Regions from separate parts of the Homo sapiens genome. Here all the other regions are linked to region 1. The links are contacts of gene promoters, found by promoter capture Hi-C in blood cells and fetal thymus (Javierre and others, 2016). All regions are on one chromosome and are shown on one strand. The core of a region is centred on a gene start or on the middle of the fragment in contact, and the rest is flanking DNA. Distances in the headings are between cores, read along the strand shown. Region 1 holds the start of DACH1 (dachshund family transcription factor 1). Region 2 has its middle 300 kb from the start of LINC00348. Region 3 has its middle 240 kb from the start of LINC00348. Region 4 has its middle 260 kb from the start of LINC00348. Region 5 has its middle 51 kb from the start of LINC00348. Region 6 has its middle 280 kb from the start of LINC00348. Region 7 has its middle 220 kb from the start of LINC00348.

Region 1 (3,017 bases), core at 349-2,848:
GGCGCCGTCCTCCTCCCTCTCGTCCCCTCCGCCCCGAGGCTCGGCTTTCCCACATCCCACAGCAGCCCATCCCCGGGACCCAGAGGGCAAGGGGAGGACCGGGCCGAAGAGCGAGGTCTGGGCAGGGTGAGGTGCCAACTTCTCAGGGGGTCGGGCGCGGCTGGCGAGCCCCGAGCAGGGAGAGGAGAGGGCCGCGCTCGCCGGGGCGCGCGGCTCGCGGGCGCGCAGAGCGAGCGGCGCCGGGAAAGGAGCGAGGGCAGGCGAGCAGGCTGGTGGGAAGGGGCGCGGGCGGCGGGGGCTATCCCCCCCGACTCACCTTGCGTTGGTGCAGTCATTGTAGAGGGTCTCGAAGTCCTTCCTGGAGATGAGTTTGCAGCGGTTCACTCCTGGCTGGATGGCGCCCAGTCCCCTCAGGATGCGAACTTGTTCCACATTGCACACCACCGGCGTGATCTCCAGCCGCTTCAGCTTGGTGTAGACCGTATGCAAGCCCCCCACCAAGTGCTTCAGGAACAGGTCGAAAGCCTGGGGCAGGCAGATCAGCTCGCAGCCCTCCACCGTGAAGGAAGCCACTTTGGCCCCCCTCAGATCCACCATTTTGCACTCATTATTCTGAGGGGTGTTTTCCACTGGGGACGGGGTTGAGTACACGGGTTTCCCGGGGAGGGGGCCGCAGCTGCTGCTGCTACTGCTGCTGCTGCTACTACTGCTGCTGCTGCTGCTGCTGCTACTGCTGCTGCTGCTGCTGCCGGTGCTGGCGTTGATGGGGGTGCTGGAAGCGACGCCGCCGCCAGCGCTGATGCCGCCGCCGCCGCCGCCGCTGCCGTTGCTCGCGGCCGCCAGGTTGGGGTTGCAGTTGCTGCCACCGCCGCCGCCGCCACCGCCGCCTCCGTTGCCGCTGCTGCCGCCGCCGCCTCCGCTGCCGCCGCCGCCGCCGCCGCCGCCGGTAGAGGTGACTGTGGCCGCCGCCGCCGCCGCCGAAGCGATGGGCTCCGGGCGGAACAGAGTTGGCCCAGAGGACGCCGGGGGTCCGATGGAAGGAGCCGGAGACGAAGTCGCCGAAGAGGTGGAGGTGGTGGTGCCAGAGGAGGAAGCAGACGTGGAGATTGGGGGTTGAGGGGGGACCAGCTGGGTCGGAGGGATCAAAGCCGCCGGCACTGCCATGGTCACATATAAGGGGAAACAGACGGAGGAGAAGCGAGAGGAAAAGTTGCCACACACCCCCGGGAGGGGAAGGGGAAAAAAGGGGGGAGAAGGAGCGAGGGGGGCAACAACAACTCCGGGAGAGAACGAGAAGGAGAAAGGGAGAGAAGGGGGAGAAAAGGAGGTGAAGGTAATAAAGAGCGAGCGCAAGAGGGGCGAGCACGAGAGGCGCTCTGGAGAGGAACGCACAAAAGTGTCCCGCAAGTCGAAATGCGAGTCCTCTCCGGGGGCTGGGATCGAGGGCTGGTTTGGGGGTGGGGGTGGGGCGGGGAGGGTCGGCTGTTGTTGTGTGGGTCTCGCTCTAGCACAAAGTTAAGGATGAAGGTGAAAAGGAGGAGGTTTGAAGGACTTGGGCTCTCCCTGGCAAGTACATTGATCAAAGATTGAGAGGGGAATGACAGAGAGAAAATGAGCTGAAAAGTGCAGGCTGCCGGCTGGACGAGTTGTTGTTGTCACACGGTGCAGAGGGGAGGAGCTCCGGAAACTTGAAATACCCTTTGAAGCCGCAAAAACCTCACTCACTAGTATTAACCCAAATTATCCAACCAGGAACTCGGAGCAGAGACTCCGAGAGCGCGAGACACTGGAGAGGGAGCGTGCGAGGAAAGGAGGAGGGGAGGGGGAGGATACGGAAAGAAACTGTGGGAGGGACGGAGAGGAAAAGCCGGGGACACAGAAGTGGCGATCGGAAAAGGAGAGGGAGATCATCTACTTCTCTTCTACTACTACCGTTAGATTGCATGTCTCACATTCCATTTCGTCCGCGGGGACTGGTAATTTTTTCCAAAGCTTCTAAACAATCGCCCGCCAACTTAAAGAGGAGCCTGAGCGCGCCGAGCTCTCTCCTTCCAGGATTTAGGATCCATCTCCACGCGTTTTGGCAATGAGCTAGAAACGAAAACACAGCCCCCACTTCACGATTATTCAGAAATTATTTTGAGGAAAATTCACATGTAAGCAAAGCGTAATGTTCTTTTGCATCTGATTGTTTATTTCTCTACTAAATTATTTATTTATATAAAGATAGTGAAAATTCCAGGACAGTTTTCAAGTGGTGAGAAGAAAGTCAGTCCGAAATCGCTTAAGAATAATGGAAAGCTCTGTATTCAATTCCATATTTCCTAATAGGTTGTGGAAAGAAATGCTTGCCTTGATGTGGATGATTTAGAATAACTTCACTGTCTCCCCAAAAGCCAGTCAGAAATACCTGTTAAACCTAGAGCTATCAAGGAGATAAGGTATCCTTGAAGATTTAGAAAGTGGAAAAAGGGTTTTCTTACCCAAAACTCTATAATTAATTCACCTGTCTTACACAGTAACCAACTATCCTCATGTCCTTTAAGACCCAAAGCCAATTGCTAATGTGTTTTTTGGACAACACAATAGTTTTTTTTTTTTTTTTTTCATGTTTGAAAAGTGCTGCTGTAGTTTTGGAAAGTCCTTTTCAATTTGTCAGTAAATATATGTTTTGTAAATAATGGGAAGAACAAAAACAAAGCTCACTAGTTGACTTGTAAAGACTTGGGTAGCTGTGCTTAAAACAACATGAGGCTGAGTTTAGACTGACTCTATTCCTCCTTTCCTTCCTCTTTCCTTTTCTTTTCTTTTCTAACTTGTTGCACTGAAGTATTTATTCAAGGATTTTTGACTAACATATCATTTGAATATGGGTCAAATCTATTTGCTGCTCATGTCTCCAAGTATCTTCAATTAGTTAGCCTTTGAACCGGTCCACACATGTTCAGTAAGTTCATAAGATATGAAGCAATGCTTTAGCATTTGACAGATTTTTAAAATAAACTGTTAGTAGCAGG
Region 2 (2,830 bases), core at 21-2,520, 560 kb before region 1:
TTTTTTGTTTTTGTTTTGTTTTGTTTTTTCTTTTGAGACAGAGTCTCACTCCACCACCCAGGCTAGAGGGCAGTGGCACGATCTCGGCTCACTGCAACCTCCGCCTCCTGGGTTCAAGAGATTCTCCGCCTCAGCTTCCCGAGTAGCTGAGACTACAGAAGCCCACCACCACGTCCAGCTATTTTGTTGTTGTTGTTGTTGTTGTGTTTTTTAGTAGAGATAGGGTTTCATCATGTTGGCCAGGCTGGTCTCAAACTCCTGACCTCAGGTGATGCGCCCACCTCAGCCTCCCAAAGTTCTGGGATTACAGATGTGAGCCATCGTGCCTGGCCTCAGCACAGTTTTCTGCAACACTTGTTTATTATAAAGAGCTATGTGTAAATTTTTCATTATATGCCTGTAGCACTTAGAAAATAAAAGAACAATAGTTACATGTTTACCGCCCAATTATCCAATACTGTATATATTTTTTGAAGTATTATCTATTACCTAATGGTTCACACTAGTTATGTTTTTGGATTTAGCAAATAATTAATTTCAAGGACATTTAGGGAGTACTCTTCGCTTTATTTTTCTTTACACCAGTGGGAATTACGATGATTCTGATGTGATTGCTTCAATGCCCCTTCACCCTCAGCTAAAGCAGAGGGCTGTGGAATGAGCACTTTATGTGGAGTCAAGGCAGCTGGCCTGTATTCCAGTCTCACTCTCTGCCTTCGAGTGTAAACATAAACTAAAGTCACTCTATACCCTGAGACCTCCCCAGCAAAAGTGAAATGTCAAGCTGCACGAACTCCCAGGTCTTTACTTTCATTTTCAGAGGAATAACATATTAAATATATTTGCACACAATTGAACAAAAATTTAATTTTGTAAATAGTAAGTCACCATCTTGCTATTAATAATTCCCTCTCTTTCTCTAAGAAAAGCATTTTTTTATTAAGTAAAATAAGCTTTTAATTCATAACTTTGGATGTGTAGGAATTGCACGTTTTTATACTTTTATCATTTACTTTTTCCTTCAAATTACCATTTCTCCAGCTTTGCAGGAAACTTCACTTCCATGACTCCTGAAGTCATTCTCTTTCTCATTTTGAGGCCTTATGTTATGCCCATTCATTGGAAGGAGGTATTGGCCATATAGGTCCAACAAAATTATTACCACTGAGACATGTTTTGTTAATTTCATGAAAAAGTATACATAAAATAGAGAAAGAAGAAAACAAACTAATACAAGTAATAAAACACTAGTATTGCATTGATGTCAAAATTAAAGAGTAAGTGAAAAATAAAAATAATATTATTCACTAATTTTACTAATTAGTGAATTAGTAAAAATACTAATTCAGTGAACCTAACCATACATTTTTAAATGACAAATGTAAAAATTGCTTGTCTTTAATATCATAAATATATTATTAGTCAATTATTATCAAATTAATAATTAAAGAAAAATTACTTCAAATATTAAAACTATTTGAAAAATGTAAAACACCTGTGTATGAGTGTGTGTGTATTAGTAATCAAAACAACATTTCTCTAGCCAGAAAATGGTAACTACCAAACTGTAAATAGCATTTTTCATAGTGAAGCTTTAGATTTATTTTCTTTAATATCAGAATGAATGTCTACTAGCACCATTTCTTAGTCAACATTGTATTTGAAATCCTAATAAATACAATTTGAAATAAAGCAAGAAAAATATGACATATAAGGATTAGAAAGAAGGTAACAAATTTCATGATGTATTACCCATATTATTTCCAGAGAAACTATCCAAAAGTTGTTTACTCAATCTACTGAAATTAGTAAAATTTCAAATGAAATTTTGAAAAAGCTCAATATATAAAACTAGCAACATCCCTTATTCTTTCAAAAAAATTTGAATATGTCATTAAAAAGTATTTAAATTCCAATAACCAAAAAAACAAAAACATTTGGAAGGTATTTTGGGATAAATTTCATGACACATATGAACGATTACAAAAGCAAAAACTCTATAAATAATCTTTGAAAACATGAAAATGTTTTTAATAACTGCACAGATATTTTATGTTCTTAAATAGAAAGATTTATTTTTGAATTAATTTTTTCCCAATTTAATGTCAGAAAAATATCAAGAATATTTAATAACTTAAGCTGATTGCCAAATTTATATGGATGAGTAATGCAGCGATAAAAGCCAAGATAATTTTGAGGAAGTAGAGCCAAGAAGGACATAGTGGAGAAGATAGTGGAGAAGGAGTGAAAAAAAGAAAGTGGAGAAAAGGGTGAAGGAGGGAAGAGAATAATAAGAAACAAGAAATGAAAAGAGAAAAGATGAAGAGAAAAAGTAATATATAGGAGGAGAAAAAAGGAAGAGTGTAAAAAGTGGTAATAGTAACATTGAACATCTGCTACTAACTGTCCATACAAATTATAATACTACCACAAATTAAGGAACATATTGAAACAGGGAGAAACAATTAAAATAATAGAAATTATTGGAATATCCTTATATACAGTTGTTTATTTATATATATATATATATATATATATATATAGTTGTTCATATATGTATAGTTGTTATATGCCAAAGTGGTATTACAACTAAGTAATGAAAGGGTGTATTGTTTAATAAGTTGGAATGGGACAATTGATAATTCATTTATTTTTTAAAAATCTATCAAATAATACTCAGAAAAAAACACAGATAACTATAACTTCCTGATAGGAGACATAAAGCACACAGAAGAAATTTAAAAAGAAAAAACTTATTAGAATATGTAGAAAAATCAATTTCACAAACAGCATATGTAAAATTTTATAACAAGACATTTTAGCAATATCT
Region 3 (2,836 bases), core at 221-2,720, 610 kb before region 1:
TATATTCCATTCCATGGACTTCACCTAAGTTTTTCTAAAGCAAAGATAACTAACCTCTATGATTTTTATAAATTCTGACAGTATTTCAATTTTAAATTATTTTCTTATTATATTCTAAAACTTGGAAATTAAAATACCAGAAAATAAAATTTTCTCTTATAAAATAAAAAAAAACCCTGAAAAATCATTGAGCACCTTTTCCTATATTTAATTAGTAAGTATAATTTAGATCACTTGACTTCTCATTTGAAGATGTTTCTGCAGACAGAGTTATTATTTTTGTAGAGAGAAGCTACAAAATTCAGTGCATGAACTGCAGTTCTTTCCACACTATTACACTGGACATGCCTGTTAGTCTCTGGAAGGCTTGTCACTCTTATGACTATGTAGAAACATTTTGTTTGAGTTTGAAGAAGACGATTGCATTTTGATGATTTGTTTTGCCTCCTGTATCTGACTCTTTATTCTTGAAATATATTCTTTCCAACGATGCCATCATCAAAAAGGGGCATTTTTGTGATGACAGTAAGAATACATCTGACGAAATAGCTACTGGATTCATCATATTTATAAAGACAGTAATTATGACTTTGGCATTAATTGTGGCCATTGGGGTTTTTTTATTCTTGCCCTTGCCAGTAGGCCCTAAATCTAGGCTTCAATTTCTTTTGCATTAACTCTGCTCAAATATAATGATTACCATTTAACTCAGTGGTTACATAATCCTAGTGAAATTTTAATGTGGACATCTTGCATTAACTTTCTTCCCTTTAACAACAACAAAAAAGGAAAAGGTGGCCCCTAAATAAATGAAACTCAATTTCACGGCACATTATCTCTTTCAATTCTTTCCTCACAGCTTTCATTTTCATTAAAATCACAGACAACCATAAATTAATAATTACTTCAGGTTCACTAAATGCAGGCCGTACTATTTAGCTCTTGCTTTCCTACAGTGGCCCTTCTTGTTCATGCTGGAAAAATGTTAATTTAGATAATATGGCTTGCCCCTTGTCTTATAATTCTGTTTTGCAGTTTCACTGATCTATAATGGTCTGTTCTTATTAAATAGTATTAACTTTATCTTTTGTTAAATCAAGCTTTACACTTTGCTTGGAAGATAACTGTTGCAAACTTTCAGTTGAAATGTGTCATTATCTATATATCTATTATATTTCAATTGGTCTCAAAATGCTTTGTGTTTTTTACTGACTTGCTTGTGATTCCATGCACTCATAAATGTTTTGTCCATTAGCTAAAAGTGTGTGTTAGAAGCTCTTACATGGAGAATCAAGATATGGAAACAAAATTCTAAGCCTTAATAATTATGAGAAATTCACATAAGCTATATTTTAAAAGATTTAGGTATTTTTGTCTGATTCACTTAAAGAAGCAGCGACTAAAAATTCAATTCAACTGTTTTTGTTGTTTCTCTGATATTTGAAAACTCTGATTAGCCTCAAGACAAGTTACTGTATTGTTTACTTAAAACGCTACTTCCTTATACAACGTTTTAAGATATGCATCTATTTTTACAGAGCTTCCAGAAGGAAAGCAGTTACACAATCATAGACTAGAACACTGAGAACAATAAAATAGAAGATTTGCCAACTAACATGGAAGTTAACAGTTTAGTCTCTGGCAATGTGACTTTTGAGAATGCTTTCACTTTCTTAAGTTTAGGTAAATCTAGTGGTTGATTTGAACCAAATAGAACACCCTCAATACTTTAGAATGCATGCTACCGTGAATAATGTTTCATTTAAGTCAAATAAGTTTAAATTAGACTATAGCAAAAAAAAAAATGGTTAAAAACCTGTCTATATATCCAAGTTTATCTCAAGCTTTTGGGAAATCAAGCAGTTTAATGAAAGATATGATAGAGAGGTCTCACCTTTCCCCCAAAGTATAAAACACACATCATCCAACACAATAGTGCTCTCAAAGAAATCCGTAAATATTCCCACCTTCTGTCCAGTGGAGCAAACATTCCTTGTTACAATATTTCCCCTTTTACTTTGGATTGCTATAAATCAATTCTGTTCGTATTATCCATATTGTATAGAAACCACATACTGCATGATTGGAAGATGTCATATTCCTGTCTGCTCAGTTATTAAATAATATGCTGTATACAAATAAATTATTTTTGAAGAAATATATTGCCACAACTTATTTGGTGAATGAACTCATTTCAATAAGTAGATTGTTGACTCCTTCATCCAGTTTATGGCAATTTTTAAAATAATACTGTGGACTGACTTTCTTCACTGTTAATCCAGGTAGGTAATTGCCTCCAAATTCTCTAATTTGTATTGATGTTACTAAGTGGTAGAGAAACATGACATTTTCATTATTTAATTTTCCAATGACTATTTTTCCTAACCATGATAAATCACTTAAGTCATGTTTACTAATGATTATATCCTAAAAATTTCCATGTGTATTGAAACCATAATTGCCCTGAACCCCACAATCTGAAAAGTCCCAGAGGAAGCATTTGAAATGAACTCAAACAATACAATAGTTTGGAATTGATCTGGGAATCTCATTTCCCTCTTCGTATCAAAGATTAACTCTGCTTGCTATAAATATTATGATACTATTTTGCACGTATTATCACTCAATGTTTTAGCCAAAACATAACTCGCCCAATAATACAAATTAATTTTACAGGCATTGTACTTTTAACCCTTATATTCTGATATTTTTTAATACATACGAGAAGAAATGGAAGAATCTTAATGTGTTATAATATTTAAAACTTTTTATTCTTTCTATTTTTCAATTTAAAAGAAAAAGTGAATTAAATATATTAGAGTGTCATCACTGAAGG
Region 4 (3,076 bases), core at 125-2,624, 600 kb before region 1:
AAACCAATACACATTTTGATTAATTGAGAAAGAGAGTCACTGAGTTCCTATAACAATAGAGGATAACGAGGGAACCAAGTGGGACTGCTTTCTGAAGGAACCACTACCCCTTCTCCAGTTCAGTCACCTAAGGTGCTGTCAAAGTCTTGAGATAAAGATACTGAACAATGTTCTAAACCAGCGGTCCCCAACCTTTTTGCCACCAGAGACCAGTTTTGTGGAAGACAATTTTTCCATGGATGGGGAGGTGGGCGTGGAGGGCACGGTTTCAGTGTGATTCAAGCACATTACACTTATTGTGCACTTTATTTCTATATTATTACATTATAATAGATAATGAAATATTTCTACAGCTCACAATAATGTACAATCAGTGAGAGCCCTGAGCTTATTTTCCTGCAACTAGATGGTCCCTTTTGGGAGTTATGGGAGACAGTAACACATTATCAGGCATTAGATTCTCACAGGAGCGCACAACCTAGATCCCACACTTGTTCAGTTCAAAATAGGGTTTGGGATCCCATGAAAATCTAATGTCACCACTGATCTGACAGAAGGTGAAGCTCAGGAAGTAACGTGAGTAATGGGGAATGGCTGTAAATGCAGATGAAGCTTCCCTTGCTTGCCCACCACTCACCTCCTGCTGTGGGCCGAGTTCCTAACAGGCCACGGACAGGACTCCTGTTCTAAACCACCCTGTGCTTGGCTGAGGTGACTGTCTTCCTTACTCCTACTTGTAGTCTTATGTAAAATCTCCGTTTATCAAGGCTGTAAAGCAATATAAAGGATGAGTTCAGGAAACCGTATCTCATAATAGAAATATACTGTTGGTGATTAAAGAGTTTCTAGAACAACTGAAATGTAATTATGGTGATGAAACTGTTACTCCAGGGAAGAATAATTGGAAAGAGTTTTTGACTAAAAAGTTTAACCCTAATAAATTAAGTTATATTCCCTGATGAAGATGACAACAGAAAGCTAACAACCTGTATGACATCCACAAAATGGAACCCAATGCTAGCCTTTCTCTAATACTTCCTAGAGGACAGATCATTTGGTGCATTTAGTAAATATACCAGCTTGTGGATTCCTTAATTTGAAGACAAATTAAACCTCTTAGTGATGTACAAAATAGATTGAAGGGACAAGAGACTAGTCAATTAATGTCATAATATCAAACTATTTTAATTGATGTAACTTTAACATATATTTTAATAAATAGATTAATTGTATATTAAAATTCTCATGATTATTCCCTAATGTTTATTTTACACACACTTTTTAAATTGATTATCTATTTTTCAAGAGATGCTGTTATTTGAAATTGATTCTATGTTAATTAGAGAGATTGATAGCTTCACAGTATTGAGTGTTTCCATGAATGGGATATATGTCTTAAAATCTTGATTAAAGACCCTCAGTAGCATAAAAGTTTTATTTATTTAGCACTTCCAAAGTTCTTATTTTCCCCTAAGATGTTTTACATATATGTCTTGTTCCTGTGAGTGGAAACTCTTCTTCAGTTACATTTTTTAACTGATTTTTGGCTTATATATGACTGCTTTTTAAGTAGCCACTGTGCATACTTCTTTTTGTTTCTATTTTTTCAAATAATTGTATTTTGTCAGAAATATAAAATATTGTTGGCAAAAGGATTTTGCCTTCTTCTTTAAAAGTGTCATATTTCTCTATACTCTGTGTAGATTAATTGCATTGGTTCATACTTCCAGAAAATGTTTGAATAATAATGATAATAGTGGGCCTGCTTCTCAAGGTCGTGACTTAAGTAGAAAAGTTTTAAGATGATTTTTTGTCTGGCATATTTTCTGTCATGTTGTAGAGACAATCTGGATGTTTATTTTCAAGATTCACTTTTTAATCATGTGTTAATGTTTAGTTTTATCAAATGCCTTATCAGCATCCATAGAAAGTATCATTTTATTGCCTTGACATTTTGTCATGTTGACATACCTTAGTAAATTTTCTAATTTTGAACTAAACTTCTATTTCTGATATAAATCCCATTTGTTCACATTAATATTCTCTACAGTCTATTCACAGATATACTTTTTAAAATTCTTTTTTATATATGTATATCTCATTTATAAGTCTAATTTTGTGTGTGTTACTCTAATTGTAAGCTTTGGATATAAATAGAATGCTGCATTTGTAAAAAGTGATTATAGGTTCCTTTTGTCCTTCATTCACTGTGCTCTTAAAAATTTCAAATAAGGCCAGGCATGGTGGCTCATGACTGTAATCCTAGTGCTTTGGGAGGCTTAGGCAGGAGGATCACTTGAGGCCAGCAGTTTGGGACAATCTGGGAACATAGTAAGATATCTCTACACACATACAAATTTATTTTTATTAGCCAGGCTTAGTGGCACACAACTGTAATTCCAGCTACTTGGGAGGCTAAAGTGGGAGGATCACTTCAGCCTAGGATGTCAAGGTTACAGTGAGCTATGATTGTGCCACTGCTCTCCAGCTTGGGCAACAGGGAGAGAACTTGTCTCAAAAGAAAAAGTTTCAAATAGCATGAGGATCTGTTCTTTATATTTTTTATAAAATTAATCTACAGAGATGTTTTGTTCTATTGGGCTTTTTAATTAGCTATTGTATAACTTGTCCATTTGTTTTTGAGTAATGAATTTGGTTTTATTTTATTTTTTATTTTCTTAAACTCAGTGGCAATAAATGAATTTGTTTAGTTTCTTTTTCCATCTCTTTTGGACCAAATGTAAAAATTGTATTTTTCCAAGTAAATCATGTGTTTATATACCTCTTTATGTTATTTACTTGAACTTAAGCAAGATGATCTCTTGACTCAATTAACATCTATTGTATTTATTATTTTGCCTCTTAGTTAATCAACTATTAAGTGCCATCTGGATTTTTTGACTATTAGTTATTTCTTTTGTTTTTCTAAAATTATAGAAGTATTATGATCTTATTCGAGAACTTAGAACTCTTATAAGAGAACTTCGAATAATTGGAAGGGGACAACTAATTCAATAGACTTATACTGAAAAAACAACCTTGTTAATCTGAATGTGTAGGTGATTTATTAAGAATG
Region 5 (3,078 bases), core at 479-2,978, 900 kb before region 1:
CCCACACACACACACATGCATATATATGCAAGCTGTTTGGGGAAAGGAATATATACATACATATTCTGATATGTATATATATATCAGAAACTCTTATGTTAGAAAATATTTTGTCAAGTGTATAACAAGTCAGAAAACTACAAAAAAGTTACACAAATTCTTTATTTGAAATAGGACGACATTTCTTACATCATAAAGCCAAATAAATACATTATATGAATTGTATGACACAATTGAAAGAGCTACATTTTTCAGAACATACAATGTTATTGCATTCTTCCAACCATAGCAAGAAAAATCAAATTTTACAACAAAAATGAGACTTATACAAGATTAGCTTAAATTTCCTCCTCCGAAGAAACATTATCATGTAAGTGACTGAACATTGTTGTGTATTTTGGTATCTTCTCAGTGGTATTGATTCCCTCCTAAGCATGACCGTTCCTGGAAACCTATGAGCAACTGTGAGTGAGGATCCAACCACTTCCCCTATCACTCACAATAATAGTGTTTGTTTGGTTACTCTAGAATTCCCTCACCTCTCTATGCTTCATCCCTTCTACTCCAAGGTAGACTTAAATAATATGAAGAAAGTTTATGTTTGCTTTCTTCTAGAAATTAAAGATTTTTTCCAGAAGAAATTATATTATGGAATTAATGATGCAAGAAGTTGCGTTGATATGAGGTACTACCTTTTAGGCATTTTAATTAAGCTTTCTATACTTTGAAGCTGTTTGGGGAGAGGAACATACTGCATTATTTTTTAATGCAAACCTTTGGGAGGTTCATGATACAGAGGCTAGACTTTAAAGAGCATTGCTCTTTATGTAATTCTGGGTTGTGCTTATATAGAGCTTGACATTATTAGACGACACTAAAAGATAAAATACAAATTCTATACCCTCCAAATTTAAAAGGATCACTGTAACTCTGATAAATGTCAAGTATCAATAGTAGTACGCTTAAACAGTCCTGAAGAGACAAAAACTGATATGATAGGCACAGCCCTGCATTATTGAGACAGCAATGATAAAGAACAACACTTAAGAGATTTTACTAACAGTTTAAGAGTTCTGGCACGGTATAGCCTGTGTATAATGAGGCTTCTAAACGTTCAGCTCACAGAACTAGCGTTTGTGGAGATAAAATACTTTACAAACTCTGTTTCATTAATCTTTACAATATCTCTGTGAAGAATTATGAACACCAATCAACAGATTACAGAGTGACAGCAGTAAAATATTGGATGAATTGCCAATCCTCTCAAAGAGAGCCCTGAAGATTCTCCTTACAATGAAGTTATTTGTTTTCCTTTTTAAAATACCAGTCCTCTAAGACCAAGTTAATATGTTAAACCCTACAAAGAACCAATATGTTTTGCTTTGTTGGGAAGAAAAAAAAAGTGACTTCTCGATAGAGAAGGCCTGAAATCACAACATTTTGAATTCAATAATAGGTTAAACCAATATTTCAATGCCAAATTACATGAATATACAAAAGCAAATCTTCTGAAAAATGTACTGTGTATTATGTGACTCTTTTCAAGGCCTAGTCTAGTGTCCATATTAATGCCAGATAAGAATTTCAATCTTGCAGTAAATTAGTCTAATCATATTATTAAATAACCCATTCAAGTGATTTTAACAGCACATTGTTTGCATTGTATTATTAACAGCCCTTCAAAGGGCAGACAACATCATCACCATCAATAAATAGCTATTGACCACTTACTGTGTATAGCTTGAATTTTTGAAAGATCATATTGTTTCCAATTTGTTAAGCTAATCTTTTATAGAATTTTTTCATGTTAACAAATGAAATTCATTTCATATCCATATGGCAAAAATTAGTCCAGGGCTTCTAAAAAATTTAGAAACCATTTTAACAATTGGATTTTATAATGTATTCAATGGTTTATGAAAACAATGAATATAGAAAGGAAATTATAGAAGCATTCAAGAGCTATGTAATAGCACCAATATCTGCTAAGTTGTAAAAGAGATATAAATTCTCCCATTTCTCCCCACCAATGTCCATACAATTAAAAGCATAAGTTATTCTGCTGTATGTATTGGTTCTGCCAATTCTGTCCATTTACCACTGCTGCATCCCCCGGCCCCTGTAAACAGCATCATTGTGTACAGTTTTACAGGTTTTAATTGTACAACTCTTTAGGAGACCATACACTTTGCAGTCTAGGAGAATGGCACCACCTAGAGGTGTGCAGTACACAAGCTGCACAATCAGACATACACACCAAGTCACCATCACCTCTCATCTGAACTACTCCAATAGTTTCTTATTTTACCTGCTTCCTCTGATCATTGTCTACTGATCCTTTAAAAATGTACAACGCACCATGATATTTTTCTATGTATAACCCTTCCATAGCTTTCCATTGCATTTCAAATACAATTAAAGTATCTTATCTTTTCAATAACTGTTTTTCTACTTAAAGTTCACTTTTTATGGTTAACCCTTTCATCCAAAATAACTCAAATGACACCTCATCAAAGAAGCCTTCTCCAACCACCCATTTTAAATGAGCAACTTTATTTCCTTCTATCCCTTTGTTCCATGTCTTGACAACTGATTAATTTTCTTTATGGCACTTCTTAAAATTGACAGCAAGTCTTATATTTGTTTACTTTTTTGTTATGAGTGAATGAATACAAAATTTAAACTTATGAATATTATTTTTTGTGCTTTACCAACATATATCATAATTTTATTTGGTTGATTGATAAGCTTTGTTTCCACTGAAGAAGATACTACATAATTGAATTATTATCATTATAAGGACTGGATGAATAAGAAAGAAAAAAAGAATGACCAGATGAAAACATGTAGTAATGTAATTGCCCTTTCAATATACCATGAAGCATTCATTGATTTTCTCAGGGCTTCAGTTTTCTTATCTGCAAAATGAGGAAGTTAGAGTACATATTCACTTTTTCCACTTCTGAAACTCAACGATTCTATGATCTCAGGCAAATATTTTCACTTTTTGTAACCCAGTTTCCTCACAGATCTAATATAGATAACTGTTCTGCCACTCACATACCAATGGCAAAGAGA
Region 6 (2,775 bases), core at 132-2,631, 570 kb before region 1:
GGCAGAAAAAGAGACCAAGGCAAGTTTCAGAACAGGAGTGGAAGTTTATTTTAAAAGGCTTTAGACTAGGAAAGAAAGAAAAGTACGCTTGGACAAGACACAAACAGGCATGTGAAAGTCAGGTGTAATGTTTCGCCTTGATCCTAGGACTTGATAGGCTGGTCCCTTCCCCATGATTCTTCCCTTATGGTGGGCTTTCCACATGAACAGTGTCCTTACGCTTGGGAGGTAAGTACACACAGTGTTTAGGAAGTTGTATGCATGCCCATCTGCGGCTTTTTTCCCTTTTCTGGTGGTGTGTCCCAGGAAGGTCCAACTTTGCCATTTTGTCTCTTAATGCACATGCCCAGTAAGTTGCCTCTCCCTGGAATCTGCATTCATTTAACACTTTAGTGCAACAGGTGTGGACCATCAGGAAATGGTCTCTCCCTGGTGCCAGCTGCCAATTTATCACATTTAGAGAGGCGATGTGATAACTGCTGAACCAGCACCCAACATTCCTTGTGGGTTGGGGAGAGCTCTCTCCTGCCCAGCTTATGCCTGTCTAACTCCCTGTAACAGGACAACTGGGAAGGTTATTAAGCAAGATGATTCAACTTAGACAAATGAGGATTTTTTAAATGAGCTACCTCCCAGTGGAGCCACCTTTATTTATTTATTTATTTATTTATTTTTATTTTTATTTTTATTTTTTGAGACAGAGTCTCGCTCTGTCGCCCAGGCTGGAGTGTAGTGGTGTGATCTCGGCTCACTGCAAGCTTCGCCTCCTGGGTTCACGCCATTCTCCTGCCTCAGCCTCGTGAGTAGCTGGGACTACAGACACCTGCCACTATGCCTGGCTAATTTTGTGTTTGTATTTTTAGTAGAGATGGGGTTTCACCGTGTTAGCCTGGATGGTCTCGATCTTCTGACCTTGCAATCTGCCTGCTTCGGCCTCCCAAGTCACCTTATTTAATACCTTCCTTCTTGTGGTTTGCCACGTGGACATAATGATCAGAACTGCAGCAGCCCCACTGGCCTTCCAAGTGAACTTAGCAATAAGTTCACAGGAATGGTGCAGAATAAAGATAAAGATGTAAGCTTTTGATGGCATTGGAGTCTTTTCTATCAGCCAGGAACTATTTGACATCTCAAAGCGAAAAATAAATCTACATATTTTTTAAGAATCTACTTTCTAAGTCTCTGTTATTTCCAGACTATCACAATCCTAATGTACATAGAATCTGTTTCATGGGCATGCAATAATACAATATTGGAGCCTAAAATGTGTTCCCAATATTTTAGGCTGAGAACCTGGCAATACATACTTCATTGATAAAAGATTTGGCCAAAATGCTGTCTGCCACACTTTGGAAAGCAGACAAAAGGCTGTCAGGAAAGCAGATCAAATACCCTTAAGGGAAAGTGTTAAAAAATAAAATAAAATGTTGTCTGTGCTAGCTGTTTCTTGTTGCTTTCAACAGAGTTCTAGGAGAGATGAGCTCAACTTTGATCCAGCTTATCTGCAGGCAGAGATGTTAGGGAGGAATTCTCTCTCTCTCTCGTCTGCAGTGTAAAAGCATTAAATTTGGAGCCTTTCAGAATTAAAAAAAAAAAAAAGACAAGTGCTCTGCATTCCAAACTGAAACCCTTGTAAGTTTACTCCAAAGAAACAGCCTTAGCAGGAGATTAATCACTGGTATTAAAGCTTTTAAAAAGACCTTCCATGAATAGTTCTTTGTCAGACAATGGGAAGCAAGCTAGAAGCAAATATCATATTAAGTATGTTGTCTTCCCACCCAAGTCTATCCTTTTAAGTGGTCTCAAGGTACAATCAGGCTTAAAAACTACAAGATCTGAAAGCCAAAAGAAACCACAAGCTTGGACTGCACCTGCCTATTACTGTTGAAATTTTAATAGTACCTGAAACTGCACTGAAATGAATTGGGCTGCAGGATATTTGGGGGCTTAATTAAGGATGCTTTCTATTGCCCACCTTAGAAATAGCCATGGAGAGCTCAGGAAAAGGAAGAACCTACCCAAAAGGGTGGAGCAAGAGATAAGAGCAGACAATGGAAGTAGCGCTTCTATAGAGAGCAGAAGTAGGAACAGGTAAGGTAACCAGGGACTCTTATATTACTAGGTTAGGGGGCTTAACTATTTATGCCCAGCAGAATCTTACTATTATGATGAGCTAATGAGCACAATTTCCTATTTTACATCTGTTCCTGCTGCTCCTTTTCTTCTGCGTGTGTTTCAGACAGATAAGTTTTCATTTAGTCTAGTAAGTCCCCAAACAATAAAGAGCTAGAGGTACACCTAATAGAGTGGTCAGCAAACATCCAGTGACCTTACATATTGAGCTATATGCATACTGGACAAACTTCCTTGCAGCTAGCTATAACAGTGTGACTAAGTTCCAGGCAATAAGTTATATATAGAAGAACAGAGCACTTTAGGAAAAATACAAACCTGTGCTCACTTTCTCCTTTTCTTAGTTCATTCTAATAACTAAAATGCAATTGGGATGGTGGAAGCTCCATTGGCCATCTTAGATCAGTGAGAGCCATAGCTAACGGTGGCCAAGCAAAGAGCTGGAAGACAGCAAGGGGCTGCTGTGTCAGCTGTGGACTACTTTTATTAGACTTACTTTATTAGAAAGAAATGATCTTCTTTTCAGTTAAGTCATTATTATTTACGGCATTTCATGTGCATGTGTGTGTGTGTGTGTGTGTGTGTGTGTGTGTGTGTAATGTGGCCAGATCAATCCATTCTATATATTACCTTATACAAATA
Region 7 (2,956 bases), core at 112-2,611, 630 kb before region 1:
TTCTCATCATTTAGCTTATACTTTTAAGAGAGAACATGCAGTATTTGGTTTTCTGTTGCTGTGTTGGTTTGCTAAGGATAATGGCCTCCAGCTCCATCCACGTTCCTGCGAAGGACACGATCTCGTTCTTTTTCATGCCTGCATAGTTAGAATAGGTAAGTCTTCAGAGATTAAAAAAAAAAAAAAAAAAAAAAAAAAAACAGATGAATGGTCGCCAGTGGCTGAAGAGAAATGGGAATAGGTAATAACTGCTTAATAGGAAAAGGATTTTGTTGTTGTTGTTGTTGTTTTAGGCTATAGGAATTAGATAAAAGTGGTCACCGTGCAACATTCTGAATGTACTGAATGCCACTGGATGCAAACGAATTGTCCATTTTAAATGCGTAATTTTATTATGTAAGTTTCACCCCAGTTTCTTTTTAAATGGAAAAATATTTAAAGCTCTGCACACTAAAACAACATCATTCAGAAAATCAAGACAAAATTCATAGTCTGGGAAAAAAAATTTGCAAGATATGTATCTGACTAAGGATTCCTATTTTGGATATATAAAGAATTTCTATACTTAGAAATAAGAAGATAGACGACCCACTTTTTAAAAAATCTGGCCAAAATAACTGCTTGTGCACTTCACAAAATAAAAAGCACAATAGCTAGTAATTGCATAAAAAGTAGTCAAATGATTAGCCATCAGCGAATTGCAAATTCTAATATCCATGAGTTACCACAACACACCAATCAGAATGGCTAAAATTAAAAGATTGTCAACACTAACATTTGGCAAGAACATAGAGTAATACAAAATTTCATGCTTTACTGACAGGAGTAAAGAGTTACTAACACTATGTAAAATGTCTGGAAGTGCTTTTTTGAAAGGCAAGTATGTATATACCCTATGATCCAACAACTTCACATCTAGGTCTCTAAGAAAAAAGTAATGCAACACACATTAGAAACAAAAGACTTGACCAAGAATGTTAACAGTAACTTTATTCCTAATGCTCCAGAACTAAGAAGAGCCCTGTTGACACTCAAGAGGAGAGTGGATAATCAAATATTTGTATATGCATACAATGGAATATTGTCAATAAAAATCACCAAACTTCTAATACACACAATATCTGGATGAATCTCCAAATGACTGATTATTCCAGTTAAAAGAAAGAAAAATATCTTTGCCTAAAATAATATATACTGTAGAATTTCTCCTATATAAATTTCTAGAAAAGGAACAGCTAATCTACGGTGAAGAAAATTCATATTAGTGGATGCTTCTGTTGAGGTGGAACTAAACATCAACTGGGAAACGGCATGAGGAAACTTTCTGGAATGATGACAAAGATTTCTAGATTTCTAGATTTCAAAATCTAGATATTGAGTTACACAGGTTTATGCATTTGTCAAAACTTTGATCTCAGGAACTCATGTTGCTAGTAAGGATGAAAATTGTCACAACTACTTTAAAATCTGTGCTTTATTCCAATATTGAAGAACTACGCATGCTGAGATGTCCTAATTAATTCCACTCTCAAATATGTAACCAGGATAAATACATCTTACAGGTTCTAGGATACATCTATAAGAATAGTTAAAGAAACAATTTCCAGTTAAAGAAACTGGAAAAAACTTAAATGGCTATCAACAGAGGAATAAATAACTAAATTGAGATACATATACAACAATGTAAAATGATCAGCTAGAGCTATATCCAATAATATTGATGAATCTTACAAACATAATTTCAAAAGGGAAAACAGGAAACAAGAAGTAATTAAATTGTGACTCATATTTTTTTACAGATTCTGAAAATAAGCAAAAATTAAAACATATTATTTATAGATACATTTTAAAATGCAAAAAGCATTTTCTAAAAAAAGCCAAAAAAAATGTAGAAGCCAGCATGTGGGTAGGAGGAGATAGATTAAGACAAAAATAGAGATATGGGCAAGGCTACCAATCAGTAGGTAATGTCTTAATTTTTTACCTTCCTTCATATTTACTTAAATTGTTGTTTATGTATGTGTGTAAAATTTTAATCTATAAATCTTATTTTAAAGTGGAAAACCTTAGTAACATCTCTTATTATACCCTTTTGTTACTTCTACAAATTTGTATTAACTTACTGCTTTATGGAAATTGAATGGGTGCAGGTCAGCATGTTTATTTTAAAGCACAGTAAATTAAAAGCAATAAATAGCTGGCATACACACACACACGCAGTCATTAGAACACACACACATATAAAATCAAATGATTAAAACAATGTCATAGAAACTATTAAAAATAATACTTAAATATATTAAAAAATCAAATAGTCTACTGTTCAGTGGTTTAATCTATGAGCCTTTTGCGAATGAGATGAAAGGTGGTTATAGTTGCTGTTTCTGCAAATTTGTTTTCTCAAGTTATACAGTAATCACCTTGTTCAAAGTTGGCTGATAATTTTTAACATGTCTTTTTTATGTTTCTGTATGGAAGCGCCTTTAATTCAGCTGGGTTACAAAACATATGTGTCAGATAAAGTTTTTTAAAATGATAAATGGAAGAAATCCAATATACATTTGAGTGCTTGGTATTTCTGACTCCAACACCAATGCCAACATTTCAAAGCGGGTGGGCTTGGGAGTCCTCCACTGTTGTTTTCTTCTCACAAAGAGAGGATCTGCAAATATAGTACTTTCATATCTACTAGTTTGGCAACTGGATTCTATTCTTGAACTGATGGCTGTTTGACATTCTATGATGAATGGTATGTGGTCAGCTATTTCAGATTTTTCCGTTACTAGAATTACATTTCTAATGTAAGGATGGGTTATTATTAGCTAAAGCTTTTATTTCCTGGGATTAGGTAAAATGAAAAGGGTTATTTCTGTTGATACACCCCATTTCACATTGCAATGCAACTATTCAACTGTAAAACGTACTTAGATTTCTATTTGAATGGTCAAGGAATGGC

Evidence for each region. Contacts are between HindIII fragments. The CHiCAGO score rates a contact against its expected background, and 5 or more counts as called.
Region 2: a contact is called between a fragment that was not itself captured here and the fragment with the promoter of DACH1 in region 1, in 5 of 17 cell types (M0 macrophages, erythroblasts, M2 macrophages and 2 more). The highest score is 7.2, in M0 macrophages.
Region 3: a contact is called between a fragment that was not itself captured here and the fragment with the promoter of DACH1 in region 1, in 2 of 17 cell types (endothelial precursors and monocytes). The highest score is 11.8, in endothelial precursors.
Region 4: a fragment that was not itself captured here is called in contact with the fragment with the promoter of DACH1 in region 1 in 1 of 17 cell types (monocytes); the score reaches 6.8 in monocytes.
Region 5: a contact is called between a fragment that was not itself captured here and the fragment with the promoter of DACH1 in region 1, in 1 of 17 cell types (fetal thymus). The highest score is 5.0, in fetal thymus.
Region 6: a contact is called between a fragment that was not itself captured here and the fragment with the promoter of DACH1 in region 1, in 4 of 17 cell types (monocytes, M0 macrophages, fetal thymus and 1 more). The highest score is 12.7, in monocytes.
Region 7: a contact is called between a fragment that was not itself captured here and the fragment with the promoter of DACH1 in region 1, in 1 of 17 cell types (endothelial precursors). The highest score is 6.4, in endothelial precursors.

Annotation. Positions count from the first base shown.
Region 1 is chr13:71,865,606-71,868,622 of GRCh38, forward strand. It overlaps DACH1 (dachshund family transcription factor 1), which reads right to left and starts at 1,599. Exons shown (of 11, transcript NM_080759.6): 1 at 317-1,599. The coding sequence starts at 1,164. The HindIII fragment of the contact is 4,223 bases long and covers 1-1,990 here.
Region 2 is chr13:71,309,364-71,312,193 of GRCh38, forward strand. No RefSeq gene overlaps it. Among named protein-coding and RNA genes, the nearest start is that of LINC00348, 300 kb to the left of the region's middle. The HindIII fragment of the contact is 639 bases long and covers 952-1,590 here.
Region 3 is chr13:71,250,823-71,253,658 of GRCh38, forward strand. No RefSeq gene overlaps it. Among named protein-coding and RNA genes, the nearest start is that of LINC00348, 240 kb to the left of the region's middle. The HindIII fragment of the contact is 744 bases long and covers 1,099-1,842 here.
Region 4 is chr13:71,269,233-71,272,308 of GRCh38, forward strand. No RefSeq gene overlaps it. Among named protein-coding and RNA genes, the nearest start is that of LINC00348, 260 kb to the left of the region's middle. The HindIII fragment of the contact is 1,529 bases long and covers 611-2,139 here.
Region 5 is chr13:70,962,114-70,965,191 of GRCh38, forward strand. No RefSeq gene overlaps it. Among named protein-coding and RNA genes, the nearest start is that of LINC00348, 51 kb to the right of the region's middle. The HindIII fragment of the contact is 2,035 bases long and covers 712-2,746 here.
Region 6 is chr13:71,292,155-71,294,929 of GRCh38, forward strand. No RefSeq gene overlaps it. Among named protein-coding and RNA genes, the nearest start is that of LINC00348, 280 kb to the left of the region's middle. The HindIII fragment of the contact is 607 bases long and covers 1,079-1,685 here.
Region 7 is chr13:71,234,734-71,237,689 of GRCh38, forward strand. No RefSeq gene overlaps it. Among named protein-coding and RNA genes, the nearest start is that of LINC00348, 220 kb to the left of the region's middle. The HindIII fragment of the contact is 2,929 bases long and covers 1-2,826 here.